Regions from separate parts of the Homo sapiens genome. Here region 2 is linked to region 1. The links are contacts of gene promoters, found by promoter capture Hi-C in blood cells and fetal thymus (Javierre and others, 2016). All regions are on one chromosome and are shown on one strand. Each heading gives the region's core, a stretch centred on a gene start or on the middle of the fragment in contact. The rest is flanking DNA. Distances are from core to core; before and after follow the strand shown. Region 1 holds the start of MIR155HG (MIR155 host gene). Region 2 overlaps LOC105372753 (a long non-coding RNA gene).

Evidence for each region. The method cuts DNA at HindIII sites, captures the fragments that hold promoters and counts their contacts. A CHiCAGO score of 5 or more calls a contact.
Region 2: a contact is called between a fragment that was not itself captured here and the fragment with the promoter of MIR155HG in region 1, in 5 of 17 cell types (activated CD4 T cells, M0 macrophages, M1 macrophages and 2 more). The highest score is 24.5, in activated CD4 T cells.

Annotation. Positions count from the first base shown.
Region 1 is chr21:25,560,525-25,564,064 of GRCh38, reverse strand. MIR155HG (MIR155 host gene) reads right to left here and starts at 1,920. Exons shown (of 3, transcript NR_001458.3): 1 at 1,808-1,920. RefSeq lists silencers at 1,576-1,855, 1,866-1,955 and an enhancer at 2,336-2,385. The HindIII fragment of the contact is 13,141 bases long and covers 1-3,540 here.
Region 2 is chr21:25,462,498-25,466,037 of GRCh38, reverse strand. All of the region lies in intron 8 of LOC105372753 (a long non-coding RNA gene), which reads left to right. Among named protein-coding and RNA genes, the nearest start is that of LINC00158, 33 kb to the right of the region's middle. The HindIII fragment of the contact is 3,160 bases long and covers 433-3,540 here.

The DNA of each region.
Region 1 (3,540 bases), core at 671-3,170:
TCTGGGTTTGTAAGGGTAGGGTTGTGCCTATCCTGCTCACCTTTGTCTCTCCAGTGTCTAGCATAGCGTCCAGCACAGGCAGACTATGATGCCTGTTTTTTTTTTGTTGTTGTTTTTTTTTTTTTTTTTTTGGTAAAGACCAGTGAATTACACTTTTTACACATGACTAGGTTAAAACAAAAGTAGACATTTGTGCAAACACCACTGTTCTCCCTTGAAGTGGTTGTAGGTCTCAGACAGTGCTAATTTTTCTCTTTCTTAATGTGTGTGGTTAGGAAGCTGGGTCCTGTGGCCAGAGTGAGCTGACCCACTATGTGAGGAAACTTACTTATCACAGCCTAATAAGGAGTAGTCCTTGCAGCAGAAGTAATTACTAAATGTGCTTTGGTCATTTGACAGAAATCAGGGAGGCAGCAAGGAGTCATGGAAATGAGCCCAAACTGAGAGTCAAAACCCTGTGGTCTGCCGACACCCCCATCCCACATCCGTACCTAAAAGCAGGCTGTGCACTAGGGACCTAGTGACCTTACTAGAAAAAACTCAAATTCTCTGAGCCACAAGTCCTCATGGGCAAAATGTAGATACCACCACCTAACCCTGCCAATTTCCTATCATTGTGACTATCAAATTAAACCACAGGCAGGAAGTTGCCTTGAAAACTTTTTATAGTGTATATTACTGTTCACATAGATAAGCAATTAACTTTACATATACCCGTTTTTAAAAGATCAGTCCTGTGATTAAAAGTCTGGCTGCCCTAATTCACTTCGATTATACATTAGGTTAAAGCCATATAAAAGAGGCACTACGTCTTCGGAGAGATGAATGGATATTACAAGCAGTAATTTTGGCTTTGGAATATACACATAATGTCCACTTGACCTCATCTATTTGACACAAAATGTAAACTAAATTATGAGCATCATTAGATACCTTGGCCTTTTCAAATCACACAGGGTCCTAGATCTGCTGTGTGATGCTGGAAAAGTAACTTCACTTCTGTGGGCCTCAGCTCCTTAATTTTTAACATACTTTGGATTCTTATATCTTTGTCAGCTGTCAACTTCAGTGTTTTCAGGTTAAATTCTATCCATAGTCATCCCAATATACCTGCTTTAGATGATACAAACTTCAAAAGATCCGGCTCTCCCTCGTAAAACGTGGAGGACAGACATCAAGGGGGTTTTGTGAGTAAAGAAAGGCAACCGCTCGGCAAAAACGCACCCTGGCACAACAGGAGCGAATAAATACAGACGCTGATTGAGCGTTTGCTCCATCTTCACTTCTGTTAAATGAAGACATTGATATCTAAAATGCTATGAGTCTAACTTTGTAAAATTAAAATAGATTTGTAGTTATTTTTCAAAATGAAATCGAAAAGATACAAGTTTTGAAGGCAGTCTCTTTTTCCACCCTGCCCCTCTAGTGTGTTTTACACACTTCTCTGGCCACTCCAACAGGGAAGCTGGTCCAGGGCCATTATACAGGTACGTCCCCAACCATCCAAGGAAACTTTGCAAAGAAGCTCAAGTATTAGGTTTCGAACACCCCTCCTTCCCCCTGCCTCTGCCCGCGGGAATCCATCCAGCGCAATCTCTGGTCCCGGGCGAGGCGACACCACTGAGTCCCCAGGGGGCACCCGCAGGCGCGCGCGGGACCAGGCCGGGCTCCACGGCCACGTGCGCGCTGCCCCCGCCTTGCCTCGCCAGTTAACCCGGCGGTGACCCTCGCACCGAAGTCCCCCGGCGTCCCTGCCACGTTCAAGAGAGGAAAGGCGGGCGGGAGCGCGAGACTGAAGTCGGCGTACCTGCAGTGCCAGGAGCGTCTCCTTGGTTCCCCGCGCTTGCTCTGCGGGCGGCTCGGGGCTCCGCTATCCGCTCCCTTCCCGAGGCTGCAGGCGGCGCTGGGCCCGGGCTCGGCCGCGCACAGGAAGCCCGCGCCTGCGAACGTGCGACCCTTTTATAACTCACTTGTGACTCATAACCGACCAGGCGCCTTTTCTGCAACCCCCCCCCCCTTCTCCCCCCTCCTGCCTGTTCTTGGAACCTACAGCTTGAAAAACTTTTTTCTTTTTAAAGGAAAAGTCGAAAAAGCCCAGCGCCCGGGTAGTTGGTGTTTTCCCCTTTCCCTTTCTCGTGGGTCATTGCGTGTGTGTATTTTTTTTCTCTCAACACACGCCGTGTACTTTCCTGCACCGCGCCGCAAGGCTTGGGCTCCAACCTTTGTTCTTAAAGAAAAGGAAACGCCTTCAAATGACGGCCCAGACGTCGCCCGAACTTTCAGTCGGCTGGAGGGGGAAGTGGCGACTTCTTGCAACTGGGTGGCAGGAGTGTCTCTACTCTCTCCTTGCAGGGAGCCCGAGAGGAGCAAGTGGGAGGTTTTTCCTCCTGGACCGAATCAGCTGGAGACCAGCAGGTCCCTAAGAGAGGAAGAAATGGTCTTCAGGCGATCCTGGATTTCATCCCTACCTCATCACCCTTCAAGAGCCCGCGTTTGGTTTGGAATACGTAACTGGGCTTTGAGAACGTTTGTACTGTGTCTGGTACCCGCATTTATACTCGGGATGTCAAGATATAGGACTTAAAACTTCAAAAATTTTGACCTCAACAACATTCTCCCCCTGCCCTCCACTCCCATCTCCAGGACATATTCCTGGAGCATATGGGACTTCGGTCGTTTTAATTTTTGGTTTTGTCGCTTCTCTCTTTTCTCCCGGACCCTGCCACAAGGGGAACATTTTCCTGGAGCAGCCATTTGATTTTGGGGGATGGAAAGGAACAAATAGATCTAAAGCCTGGCAAGTTTATCCTACAAGCCTAGTCGAGTAACTCATTCATGGGTCTCAGTTCAATAAACGTTTAGACTTGAAGAAGAATAAGGAAATATGGGGAAGAGAAGGAGGACAGGAATAGATCTAGCCTCATCAACATGTGACTGGGGCCTTTTTGTAAGAAAGACGGGGCCACTGCTGGATTGCATTGCAAGTATCCAGTACTTGGACCTCCCTGTCAAGGGCACAAGACATTTTAGAATAGTTTGTATTAAACTGATGCCAGTTACATGTCAGAATACATGTCAGAGCTGGAAATCCCATAGTACTTAATTTACAGATGGCTCAGGTTGGTTAAGGAACTTGGGAGCATTTTAAAACCCTCTATTCTTAAGATACATGCTTTTTCTCTTATAATTCAAACAAGAATAATCATGATGATAACAACTAACACTTATAAAGCATTTACCATGTGCCAGATCCTGTCCTAACACTCCTTATATGCATTAACTCTTTCAGTCCTCACTATGATCATATGAGGGAGGAGCATTATAATCTCTATTTCCAGATGAGGAAACTGAGCACAGAGAGATTAAACATGTTACCTTAGATCCTAGTAAGTAGTCAAGCTGAGATTCAAACTCAGTTCCAACCCTGGAGGGCTGGCTCCGTAGTCCAGTCTCCCTGCTTTCCAGATCCATGTGACGTTGAGGAGCTGGGGAAGTTGTGCAGTGGGGCATGTGGCAAGGATGCATGGTCCCCACCCAGGT
Region 2 (3,540 bases), core at 763-3,262, 98 kb after region 1:
TTTTATATGACTGTTCTATTTTATACTTGTATCCTTTTTTTAATCAGTAGGGTTTTGTGAGGTATTGGAGACAAATATGTGTGCAAAATTGCATCTAGAATTGATAGAATTTTAAAGAAAATTTGTTCAACTTTGGCATTTGTGGATTTAATTGATGCCACCAGTGAGGCTGTATTAATTATGATTTATGTTAAAATTAAGGTCTGACAAAAGTGAATATTTATTAAGTATACAGTGTTGATAGTTAGAATTAGAGTCAGAATATATGCCCTCTAGGTGGAGAAAAAGACTTTAAGCCAGGATTAAAGCAGTTGTATAGCATTCATATAATAAAGAATTTTGCTAATATAACCAAATTGGGCATGAGGTCAGTACCAAATAATGAACAGTTTGAGTTGAAAAACATTTAAAAAGAAATGCAAATTTTAAGCTTTTACATGTTCACTCCATTGCTCCCTGAGATCATTTGGATAGCAGAGGAAAGGACATTACAGGCAGAGGGTGTATGAAGTGCAATACTCTGAGCAAGGAGCTTGCCTGCTCTGTTCAAAGAACAGTGACAAGTGATGAGCCCAGTTTAGTTAAGGTGAAATGAATAAGGGAGGAGGGAGGAGGAGATGTAGTCAGAGAAGTAATGGGGCCAGCTCATGTAGGTCCTGGTATACCATGGTAAGGACTCTTAGTTTTTATTCTGAGTGAGATGGAAAGCCATTGAAAGGTTGTGAATAGAGGAGTGAGATTATGTTTTCATGGAATCTCTATGTCTGTTCTTTGGAGAATATGCTGAAGCTGGACAAACTTATTATAAAACAGTAGGTCAGGTAGGAGGTAGTTGCAATAATACAGGCAAAAATTATTGTGTTGTGTACCAAGTTGATGTTTTGTGATAAACAGCCAAATTCTGGATCTATTTTGAAGATAGAGAAAGTAGGGCGCATTGACAAATTTTGTGTAGATAAGGAAAGACATACAGAATGGTGCCCAAATTTACATGTCCTAGTTAGATATGAGCTGTATGAGGACAGGAGTCATAAATGATTGTTTAGTATTTTATCCTTTTCTAGTATCTAGTTCACAGACAGCAATAAGAAGTACTGAATGAATGAATAAAACATTCATGTAGGACACTGTATCAGAATTTGTATATAAAGCAGAGATCCCTCTTTTCTAGGCTACCAAATTCTTGATCTTTCTGAAAGTCGCTTTTTTCAGGCACAGGGATGGAAGATGTATGGATTCTTCCTTTTCGGATTCAGGTGCTTCTTCCAAATATCCTCCTGTCAGTCTCACTCTGGTGGCTGTCACCCTGCAGGGCTGTGGTTGGTTATTCTTTACCTTTCTAGATAATGCAGAGAAAGGTGTTGTGTAGACCAGCTTCTTCTGTTTCCTCCAAGATTCAGACTACTCAAACTGCATGTTCATTCTCAGAGAGAAAGAAGGGCCATATTCCATTTTCTCAAGATCCAATGCACTCACTCATCTGTTTTTTGAAAGAGTCTTTGTATTTTGAAAGAGTGACTTCTGACCTCTCAAGGAAACTTTCACAACATGAGTCTTCAGAGCCCTCGATTTGGCACTACCTGTAGCACAGAGCACCCCAATCAAAGGCCTAATGAGTCATTTTAATCCTGTTACTCTGGTAATTTTCTATTATGGGTATAACACAGTTATTTCCTTAGTGGTGCCTAGAAACAGTGTATGTTGACCTAGTTACAAACGTTCTTTACACAGTACAGTACTACACAGTGTGGAAAAATCTATTTGAACATATTTTAGAGTAAAATGATATAGTAAAGAATAAAACTCAAAATTCTACTTTCAAAGTTTTGGCCACAGGGAAAGGTGACGAATCCAATTAATAAGGCTCATGATCATCAATAAAAAAGTATATAAAGGATGACAGAATAAAGTTTTGAGTTTTAGCTTTCAAAAATTCATTTATCCCTGTGACAATTTTTAAGGTTGTTGGAGAGATGGTGCTGACAAATATGTCAGAATGCCCTAGAAATTAAGGGTATCACTTTAGCAAGTGAGAGAAGTAATTCTGAATTTTGAACAGAAAAAAAAAAGAAAAAGAGAAAAGAAGAGAAAAAGTTGTTACCTTCAGAAGAACCAAGCCATTGCAAATATGTCCCTGTTAAGTTGATTGGATTGCTGTGAAAATGTCAAGCATCTCTGGGCTAATTGCTTAGAACATCCTTCTATTTACTACTTAAAAAATGAGTAAAATGTGAAAAGGTGTCTTTGATCTAGATTTCTGAATCTACACTGGTATGTTTATTTTAGGCATCATAATGGTAAATATGTAAAGCATGTTTCAAATTTTTCAGTTAATTCCTCTATAAAGGCAACCTTTATTCAAGGAATATATAGTGAGGGTGAGGTTGTCATAGACTTTTCTTGCTAATTTTGGGTTGCAAATTTCTAACCAACTTTCTATAAAAAATGTAATATGAGACAAATATGAGAAATAAATGACATTTCTTTTTCTTGGTGGGATCCTGTGCTTCATAAGAAACACTAGATGAGTTTCCGTATTCCAGTTTAGAAAAACATATTGGGGCTACAGCTTAAAAGCAACACTTATGTGATTTTTTAGCAATCTTTGATGAACTCTAGGAAAATGGGGCTAAAATGTTTCTCGAACTTTATCACAGCTAATCAAACTTAGAGTCAAATAATATGTAGGCTGAGTAAAAGTTTCCACATAGAACAAAATATTTTTTTTTGTTGTTGAATGTGACTTATGGCACATTTTAATATTTTTTTCTCACTTCCCTACTTTGTTACATTCTATTCTCAAGCCTTTGGGTTAGTCCTTATTCTTAAATTCATACATGCCATGTATTGTGCTATAATTCATTCTTGGATGATGACTATATTACAGAATGATTTGAAAAAAGTAATTATTCTTTTTTTCATTCATTGTCATTAAACCAATCAAAAGCATTAGACTTGTCATGGGGTTTCTGATTGTTTTAGTCTGATTGGGCATTCATAACAAAGTACCATAGACTGGTTGACTTGAACAAGAGAAATTTACTTTCTCACAGTTTGGAGGCTGAGAAGTCCAAGATCAAGATGCCAGCCAGTTGGGTTCCTGGTGAAAGCCTGCTTCCTCACTTGCAGATGGCTGCCTTCTCTTTGTGTGCTCACATCGCCTCTCTTCAGGTGCACGTGCCTGGAGAGAAGGAGAGAGGTCTCTCTCTCTCTTCCTCTTCATATAAGCCACTGTACTATCAGATTAGGGCCCCACCCTTATGACCTTATTTAACCTTAATTACCTCCTAAAGACCCTATCTCCAGATAGTCACATAAGGCGTTAGGGCTTCAACATATGAACTTTGGGCTTCAACATATGAATTCAACGTATGAATTGGAACACAATACAGTCCATTGCACTGATCTGTCAACAGATCTGTGTCAGTATTTCCAGTGGTTTATCATGCTGATGGTCTTTCAGTTTCTGCAATCAACATTTACAGAACTGTACTGACACTTTGCTAGACTCGGGGCATATACTCTGTACCTGATACTATG